Regions from separate parts of the Homo sapiens genome. Here region 1 is linked to region 2. Evidence: promoter capture Hi-C in 16 types of primary human blood cells and fetal thymus (Javierre and others, 2016). All regions are on one chromosome and are shown on one strand. The core of a region is centred on a gene start or on the middle of the fragment in contact, and the rest is flanking DNA. Distances in the headings are between cores, read along the strand shown.

Evidence for each region. The method cuts DNA at HindIII sites, captures the fragments that hold promoters and counts their contacts. A CHiCAGO score of 5 or more calls a contact.
Region 1: a contact is called between a fragment that was not itself captured here and the fragment with the promoter of MYOZ2 in region 2, in 3 of 17 cell types (M0 macrophages, endothelial precursors and M2 macrophages). The highest score is 6.5, in M0 macrophages.

Annotation. Positions count from the first base shown.
Region 1 is chr4:119,186,991-119,191,060 of GRCh38, forward strand. MYOZ2 (myozenin 2) reads left to right here. Exons shown (of 6, transcript NM_016599.5): 6 at 1-799. Among named protein-coding and RNA genes, the nearest start is that of USP53, 24 kb to the right of the region's middle. The HindIII fragment of the contact is 1,128 bases long and covers 1,844-2,971 here.
Region 2 is chr4:119,133,476-119,137,509 of GRCh38, forward strand. It overlaps MYOZ2 (myozenin 2), which reads left to right and starts at 2,357. Exons shown (of 6, transcript NM_016599.5): 1 at 2,357-2,507; 2 at 3,037-3,126. The coding sequence starts at 3,051. It overlaps LOC102723967 (a long non-coding RNA gene), which reads left to right. Exons shown (of 3, transcript XR_001741422.1): 3 at 1-79. The HindIII fragment of the contact is 2,789 bases long and covers 1,248-4,034 here.

The sequences.
Region 1 (4,070 bases), core at 1,158-3,657, 54 kb after region 2:
ACCGTAATATACATATAAATACATTCATGTTTGTGAGAGAAGGAAAGAGTAAGTAATTTGAATTGGCAGCTTTCTTTGCTAAATCTTTAAATTCTGTTAAGATCCTCAAGTAACTGGGGAGTACATGCTTTAGGACACAAACAAAAACAAAGGGCATGAAAGTATCTGAAAGCAATGTAGCACATATCTATCGTAATATATGTAATATATTGACATAAAAGACACAAACTAATATAAAGTTATAGTTATATCTTAAAATATAATTGAAGAAGCATATGACATATAACTTATAGAAATCAGTATCAATTCCTCCCATTTCAATTCAGTTAAGACTTCTGTGATAGATGTTTATAGCAGAGAAGAAATGTCTCATCAATAGAAAACTATCAGATAAAGTTTAGGAGATAGGAAGAAGGACTGTGTGTAGTAATGAAAATACCAAGTTGCAACATTACATGTTTACAAAAAAAAATCTGTGTTTGTAGTGTGGAAGTTGGTGACTGTTTTAATCATCATCTAGACTTGTTAAGTAGAAAAATTTTAAAAATTTGCTTATGAAAATATAACCCCCAGAAAGTAACAATGACAAAGTATTATATTTATATATATTATTGTAGAGAATTTGTATATTTTTAAAGATGTCTTAAGATATCTTAATTTTATTTATAAGTTTTGGTGTTTACCTGTTTTAAAATGATAATGTTGGCATCTGTGATAAACTATCAATGAGGCTCCCATCATGCCATTTTTTGTTCATTTTAATCTTTAAAAAATAAAAATTAGGCATATTAATTATGCATTTTGATGAAATGGTTTAATTCTTTATTAACATCATGAAATGAGTCATTATTTTTAATGAAAATGAAATCTTTTTGCATTATTTCAACCATTTCCAAATATAAACTATATGATCACTGTCCCTATTCTGCCAACCACTGAAAGTAGAGGCCAGCAATTAAGTATGTTAGCTACAGAACAGTACTCCCCAGTATCATAAAAGATAATTTAAAAAGGAAAATCCTGGCCAGGTGCGGTGGCTCCGCCTGTAATCCCAGCACTTTGGGAGGCCGAGGTGGGCGGATCACGAGGTCAGGAGATTGAGACCATCCTGGCTAGCACGGTGAAACCCTGTCTCTACTAAAAATACAAAAAAATTAGCCAGGCGTGGTGGTCGAGGCCTGTAGTTCCAGCTACTCTGGAGGCTGACGCAGGAGAATGGCATGAACCCGGGAGGCGGAGCTTGCAGTGAGCTGAGATCACGCCACAGCACTCCAGCCTGGGCGACAGAGCAAGACTCCGTCTCAAAAGAAAAAAAGGAAAATCCTAAGTGATACTTATTTTTTTAAAAAGATTAGGTAGAAAAAGAAAAAATAACCCTCTGTTCACTATTTTATTTCTTTCTTTCTGGGAAGTGTCTATTAATTCTAGCTCAGCTGACACCTTTAGAAAGGCCAGCATTTCACTCTGGTTGTTACATAATTCAGAATTCAAAAGGAATTTTGAATGGGTTTTCCATTAACCTGAAAAACAGCTAAATCTTTCAAAGTCAAAAGAAATATGATAGTCTCTTTAGAACAACAGAAAGACCGCGACATTTTTTCCACCTGCTTTTGTATAAATAAGATATGGAAAAAAGGAGAAAAAATATTTTTTAAAAAGGTAAAAGAATAAAAATTTGTTGCTGGAGTACTAAATGTCAGACACTGTAGTCATTTCCTTATAAAGGCAATTTAATATATTTAATATTGCATTTTCATAATTATTCTGTAAGGATGGCATTACAAATAATCTCAATTTTATATTGAAAAGACTGAGCCTCAGAGAACTAACGTGACTTGAAATAAGCTTAGCTCATAATTAGAAGAACTTGGTGAGTCTGGCTCTAAAGTACATGCTCTAAGAACACATGGTTCATAACTTTTCCTAAGAATAGAGTTCAGCCTTAAAGTATTTAGACAAAATAATAAAAATTCTCTGTTATTTTAATTTTGAGCAAATACATCTATTCACTGAGTAATTTTAGAGTCACTATCCAAAGTTATACAGGCATTCATAAAGAAACTGAACTTTCAGACTGTGTTGAAAGCAAACTAAATAAAACAGCAGTATGCAGATTTAACTTTGAAATTGGAGAAACACAAAAGTGCACTCTGATTAAACCTGCTCATTTCTGCTCAGTATTGTACACCTGTTTGATCTATGTAATCTTCCTTTTCTAAGGAGAAAGAGTGGGAAAGCAGGAGAAAGAGAGTTAAGAAATGCATGACATAAGGCTGAAAGAAATCATCTAGTTAATAACATACCAAAACCACTCCTTCAAAAGAAAACATTTTCTACTTTTTAAAACATTAGAGGAAATTCTCTCAGATTTCATTATACTGTTCGATAGACTTCTGGGTCATGAAATTATATCTTCTATTTTAAGCCAATTTCTTCTAATATCATTGGCAGGACTGATGATCAACTTGCCAACTGCCCCCTGGATGATAACTACAGCTACATTAATAACCAAAGCTATGGTTAGAAAGACTGTCTTTGGCTTTTAACTCTCCACTTCCTTTCATCATTTCTCAAACGTTTTATTTTTCATCTCGTAACTCAATATTTAAGAGGACTTGACAATTAAAAATAACTAATTATTGGTTATTACAAAATCAAGCCAAATATAGACAAAATTTTTAGTCAAAATGATCATTTATTGCATCTACTTTAAATTTTACATCCTATAAATAGACCCATTTATAAATATTTTAGCAGCTTGGAAGTGGAGGGAGCCAATTAATCTTGCAAAGGCTAATATGGAGCAAAATGTCCAGTCGTGAGTATGAAAAGAACACCCTGAACTTTTCAACTAAGGGCACAGCTGTACCAGCAGGCTTATTAATTCTGGAATTTCTTCACTCTGCTGCTTATGCAAGATAAAACTTACATGACATAATTGCAGTTTTTCAGCCACAACTGTCTTTTATTAAGCTTAGAAAAGTATTACTTTGTCCCTTTTCTTATGAAAAATAATTTTGCCCTCCACACTCTATTCTGTAGGAAGAAGGGCCATTCACTTTCTATGAAAGGCAGAAAAGTGCCATGCTTTTACCAAAAGACAAGCAAAGGGAATCCATTTCAAACTAACTGATCAAAGCACACTGCAAATATATAAAATAATTTTTTAAAAATTATAATGCCTTTTACAAGTTAAACTTTCCAGAACTAACAAAAAAGGAAGTAAAAGTGTATAAGAATTTTAACAGCTTAAACTAAAATGTTATTAAATAAAAGTAGGGGTTCTTATTTGAATTTCTTAAATGGAGGAGCTAGATTGCAACCCTGGATATAAATTTACCCTGACTTCTCAATGTAATGTGATTTCAGTGGGAAGATTTGGTACATAAGGGCAAAGAGAGAAAAAAAGCTATTTGAAAGAGCTTATAGTTCAGATCAAAATAAGAATGTGCTTGCCATTTTGTATTATGTAATTTTTTTTTAAGAGACAGTTTCTTATTCTGTCACTCAGGCTGGAATGGAGTGCACTGGCCCAGTTATAGCTTACCACTGCAGGCTCAAACTCCTAGGCTCAAGTGACCCTTTTGCCTCAGCCTCTTGAGTAGTTGGGACTATAGGCATGCACTACCACACTTGGCTAATTTAAAAATTTTTTTTAAAGGTAGGGTCTTGCTATGTTGCACAGCCTGGTCAAGTGATCCTCCCACCTAGGCTTCCCAAAGCGTTGGGATTACGGGCATGCACCACCAAGCCCAGCCTGCATTGTGTGATATTTTGAAAAACATTTTAATGACAACTCAGGGCAGTGGAGATGTTTCAGGAAACAGGACTGGAAAGTTAGAAGGAAAAAAATATAAAGTAAATGTCATTCCCTATTTTGAAATTGCTCATTAAAGAAGCTGCATCACTAACAAAATAAATATAAAAGAAGGGGTGTGGATAGGGGGGAAAGGAAGGCCAGAGTGAAGTAGGCTGGAAGGAAATACAATTCAGGCTGTACAAAAGCTAACTGCGTTATTTTATGGTTTCTGAAGCCTTTTATTCACTTCTTTTAAAGTAATTTTGGTCTA
Region 2 (4,034 bases), core at 1,107-3,606:
CTAGATTAGCTTAAACCTGCTATCTACAACCTTTAGCTTTCTCTTTTTTTTTTTTTTTAAACAAGGTCTGGTCTTGCCCGGGCTGGAGTGCGGTGGCTTGATCATGGATTACTGCAAACTCTACCTCCTGGACTCAAGCAATCTTCCCACCCCAGCCTTTGGAGTAGCTGAGATTATAGGTGCATGCCACTCACCTGGCTAATTTTTGGGTTTTTTGTTTTTGTTTTTGCTTTTTTGGTAGAGGCAGAGTTTTGCTAGCTGGCCTAGGCTGGTCTCAAACTCCTGGGCTCAAGCGATCCACCCACCTTGGCCTCCCAAAGTGCTGTGATTTACAACCTTAAACTTTCAATCCTATGATCAGGCACCAAAATGTATAACCGATTTCAATCTTATAAAATACAATTCCTCCCACAAATAGCCACCACCTTTGTACATTCAAGCGACTGTTCATTTGAATTCCAAACTCATGCCAAACCTTTAATGCATTCTGCAGTTAATCTCCAACCTACTCATTTATTCATTCATTCAATGAATATTGAGTGCTTACCATATGCCAGATACAATTCCAACTGCTGAAGATACAAAGCCCAAGCCATTATAGGATTCATAGTTTAGTAGAAAAAAGAGATATCACATAAATAGATGCAACCTCTACCTCCTGGACTCAAGCAATCTTCCCACCCCAGCCTTCAGAGTAGCTGGGATTACAGGTGCTAGTAAAACTGTTGAGGACGCCATTTCAACCTTTAGAATTGTACATAACATAAACTTTTGCTAGATAGATAGATAGATAGATAGATAGATAGATAGATAGATAGATAGATAGATAGAATAATGTTGGCATGTTCTTAGTGAAAAAACTGAGTTGTCACTCAGCAACAATTATTTCTTTGTTAGTAAGTTATGTATGAATTTTAATTGGGCTCATGACCACCTAGAATAGAAGCTACACTTCCCAACCTTTCTTGAGTTATGTACGGCTATATGGCTAAGTTCTGCCCAATGGGATGTAAACAGAAGTATGAACAAAATATCAGACATGTTCTGAAAAGAAGACAGTGTTCCCTTCTCATTTTTTTTTCTTTTTCCTGCTGGTTGAAATATATGCATGCTGACTGGAGCTGGGGCAGCCAATTAGGCCCAAGGGGTCTGCATTTTAGGGATAGTGGAGCAAAAAGTTAGAGGGTAACTGAGCCCTTGATAATTATGTCAGTCATGCAAACCCTCAATTACTTACTTCTAGACTAAGCTTACCTGTGAGAGAAACATCTTCCATCTTTTTACAGTTCTGTTTTGGGGGGGTTTCTGTCACTCCCATTTGACTTTTATCTTAACTAATAGAAAAATATAAAGAAAATGAAGCAGAGTAAGGGACTAGAGAGTGGCACAGTGTGATATTTTAGACAAGGTGATAAGGGAAGGATTTTATGAGGGATTGTTATCTGAGCAGAGTCCTGAATGCATGACTGTGCCATGTGAGTAGAGGGAAAGTATGGAAGGGGGAAATAGTAAAAGGAATACAGTATCTATTTTCATTTTGGAAACCAAAATTAACATAATGATTATCTGTTGAGGACACCATTTCAACCAGGGAAAGGGGGAAATAGTAAAAGGAAAGGGGGAAACAGTAAAAGGAAAAGCCCAGAGATGAGAGCACGTTTTTGTGTCCAGGGACCATCAAGGAGGCCAAACCTTTTGACAGGCAAACCTTTCAAATCTTGTCAGGCCTGCAAATGAAAATCCTTGACCCTAGACATTGTAAAGACTGGTCAACTTTGCAGGGACTGGTCTCTGTAGGCCCTTCAAAAAGCATGACCCAGTTATGAGTCTCAGCTTTTACCCAGCTTCATGGCTTATCCTCTAATGGTTCATTTCAAAATGCTTCCTGAGTTCACTATTCAAATACTACATACTTTTCTCAACCTAGCATGAGTTCTCACTACAGCTTAAGAACTGGCTCTATTGATCCACCCCACATTACTTCCTTTCTTCTTGAGTCTACATAGATATTACTGCCTATATTGTTCATTTTAATTATGAAAAATCTATCATTCTGTTCTGATTCATGCATGTGTCTCTTGCCACCTCAATTAACATGTAACATAAGAGCTAGATGTTTAAAAGTGTTTAAAATCCCTTTTGGCTACTATCTGTTCAACAGAAAGTGCTCACTAAAAACTTTCTGCATGTCCAATGAACGTTTCATTTAACCATCTCACAAACTAGAAACACAATGGAGAGAGCCTAATCTTTCCCTGTTCCTCCCTTTCGCCAGGAAGATATGAGTAGCTAAAGTATTTGGTGCTATATATAGCCAGTTGATGTCAGCTGAATGCCAGTCTCTTCAGAAAAGCTCAGTCCCCAGTTTGAGTCAGAGTAGGGACCATGCTGTCCCAGGTTCAAGGATAAAAACCATCAGGCCCAAGTGCCATCCATAGTCCATCTCCAGAGTCTTCCTCCACAAACTGGGATTCATCCCCGCTGAAAAAGCACAATCTAACAGCAAGGTGAGTATGTTGTTTCCTAAAATGTTTCATTAGTCAGTTGTCCAAGGATATTCAGAGTTGTGACTCATAAATGGGCATTCTCTGCTTTAAAGGGCAGCTGTTGCCAATATTAAAATGCTACCACCAAAGAATTCTGGTTTAGTCTAGTGTCTTCTTCATTCTTACAGTTTGCTGGAATTGATGGAGTGTGATGCTGGTACAAATGAAGGCCAGTGAGGAGACAATGACAGACTAAAATACTGTGGAGAAAAGAGAGGGAGGGGAAAGGAGACCAGCAATTTCATTGTTTCTCACTGCCTGATGATCATTGTATTAATGTCCAGACTGGGTCTCTGTTCACTGTGACATTGCCTGTCAATGAATAACATACTCTGTCACCAGATAAGGAATGCGTATTGAAGTCTTTCAGTAGCAAGCGATAATAACTTTTTAATAAAGAACAAAGATGTTGTCTTTCAAAACAGTGATTATAAGACACTCCAAATGAGTTCTTCACATTGCCTCAATAATGTCCCTTTGTTTTTAACAGGGAACAAAAAAACCATGCTATCACATAATACTATGATGAAGCAGAGAAAACAGCAAGCAACAGCCATCATGAAGGAAGTCCATGGAAATGGTATCAATAAAAATCCTTCGTAGCATTAATATAGCACAGCATGAATGTGGCTCCATCCTGACGTTGTTTAATATTCCATAGTTTACTTCCTTTAGATTCTTGCTGTTCTGTCATAACAAACCTGGAGCTCTAGGGGGTGTAGAAAAGCCTATGGTAACTAATCCTTTTGTAGTCATCCTTTCTCATTTGGAAGCTATTTTCAGAGGAACAACTGCTGTAAAAGGCATGAAGCAATCTGACAGCTGATGTACATTCTGCTTGGCTTGCCTTCCACATTATAAGTTAAGATCACTCTCGATTCTTTTTTTTTTCTGGACAAGTCTCATACAATCTTGTCTTTATTGTCCATCCCACATGGTTTAGCTTGATTTCTTTTACCTTACATTATATAAATCACTCAAAATAAGTTCTATCATCTTTTTTATCAAGCTATTAAGTTGGAATTCATATTTATTGCTTATTATTTAACTCCATTTCTATTGCTTATTTATTTAACCCTTCATATTTGTTAATTGATTTACTAACATATTTTGTGTGCAAAGTCTACTTTTATTTGTAACTTCTGAGAAAATATAAAGTTATTGTAGTCTCAAAGCATATGACTCAAAAAAATTTTAATATATATTACGTGCAAGGTAATATTTCACTCTCTCCTTTTCTTTAAATTCTAGCAACTAACTTGAGAAAGCAATGCTTTATAACTTGCATTTTGATTCTTATAAAGGAAATTCAACTTTGTTTATAAGCAACGTATAGCATCAGTTTTAAATGTTAAGAAAAATATTCAGGTCCTCTTAGGAGCTGATTTGAGCCATTCCAGATATATTAGTGGCATTTTCAGAATGCCTCCTTATTTCCCCTGTATTGACAAGGAATGCAGCCTTTCACCACTACAATATTGAGACCTA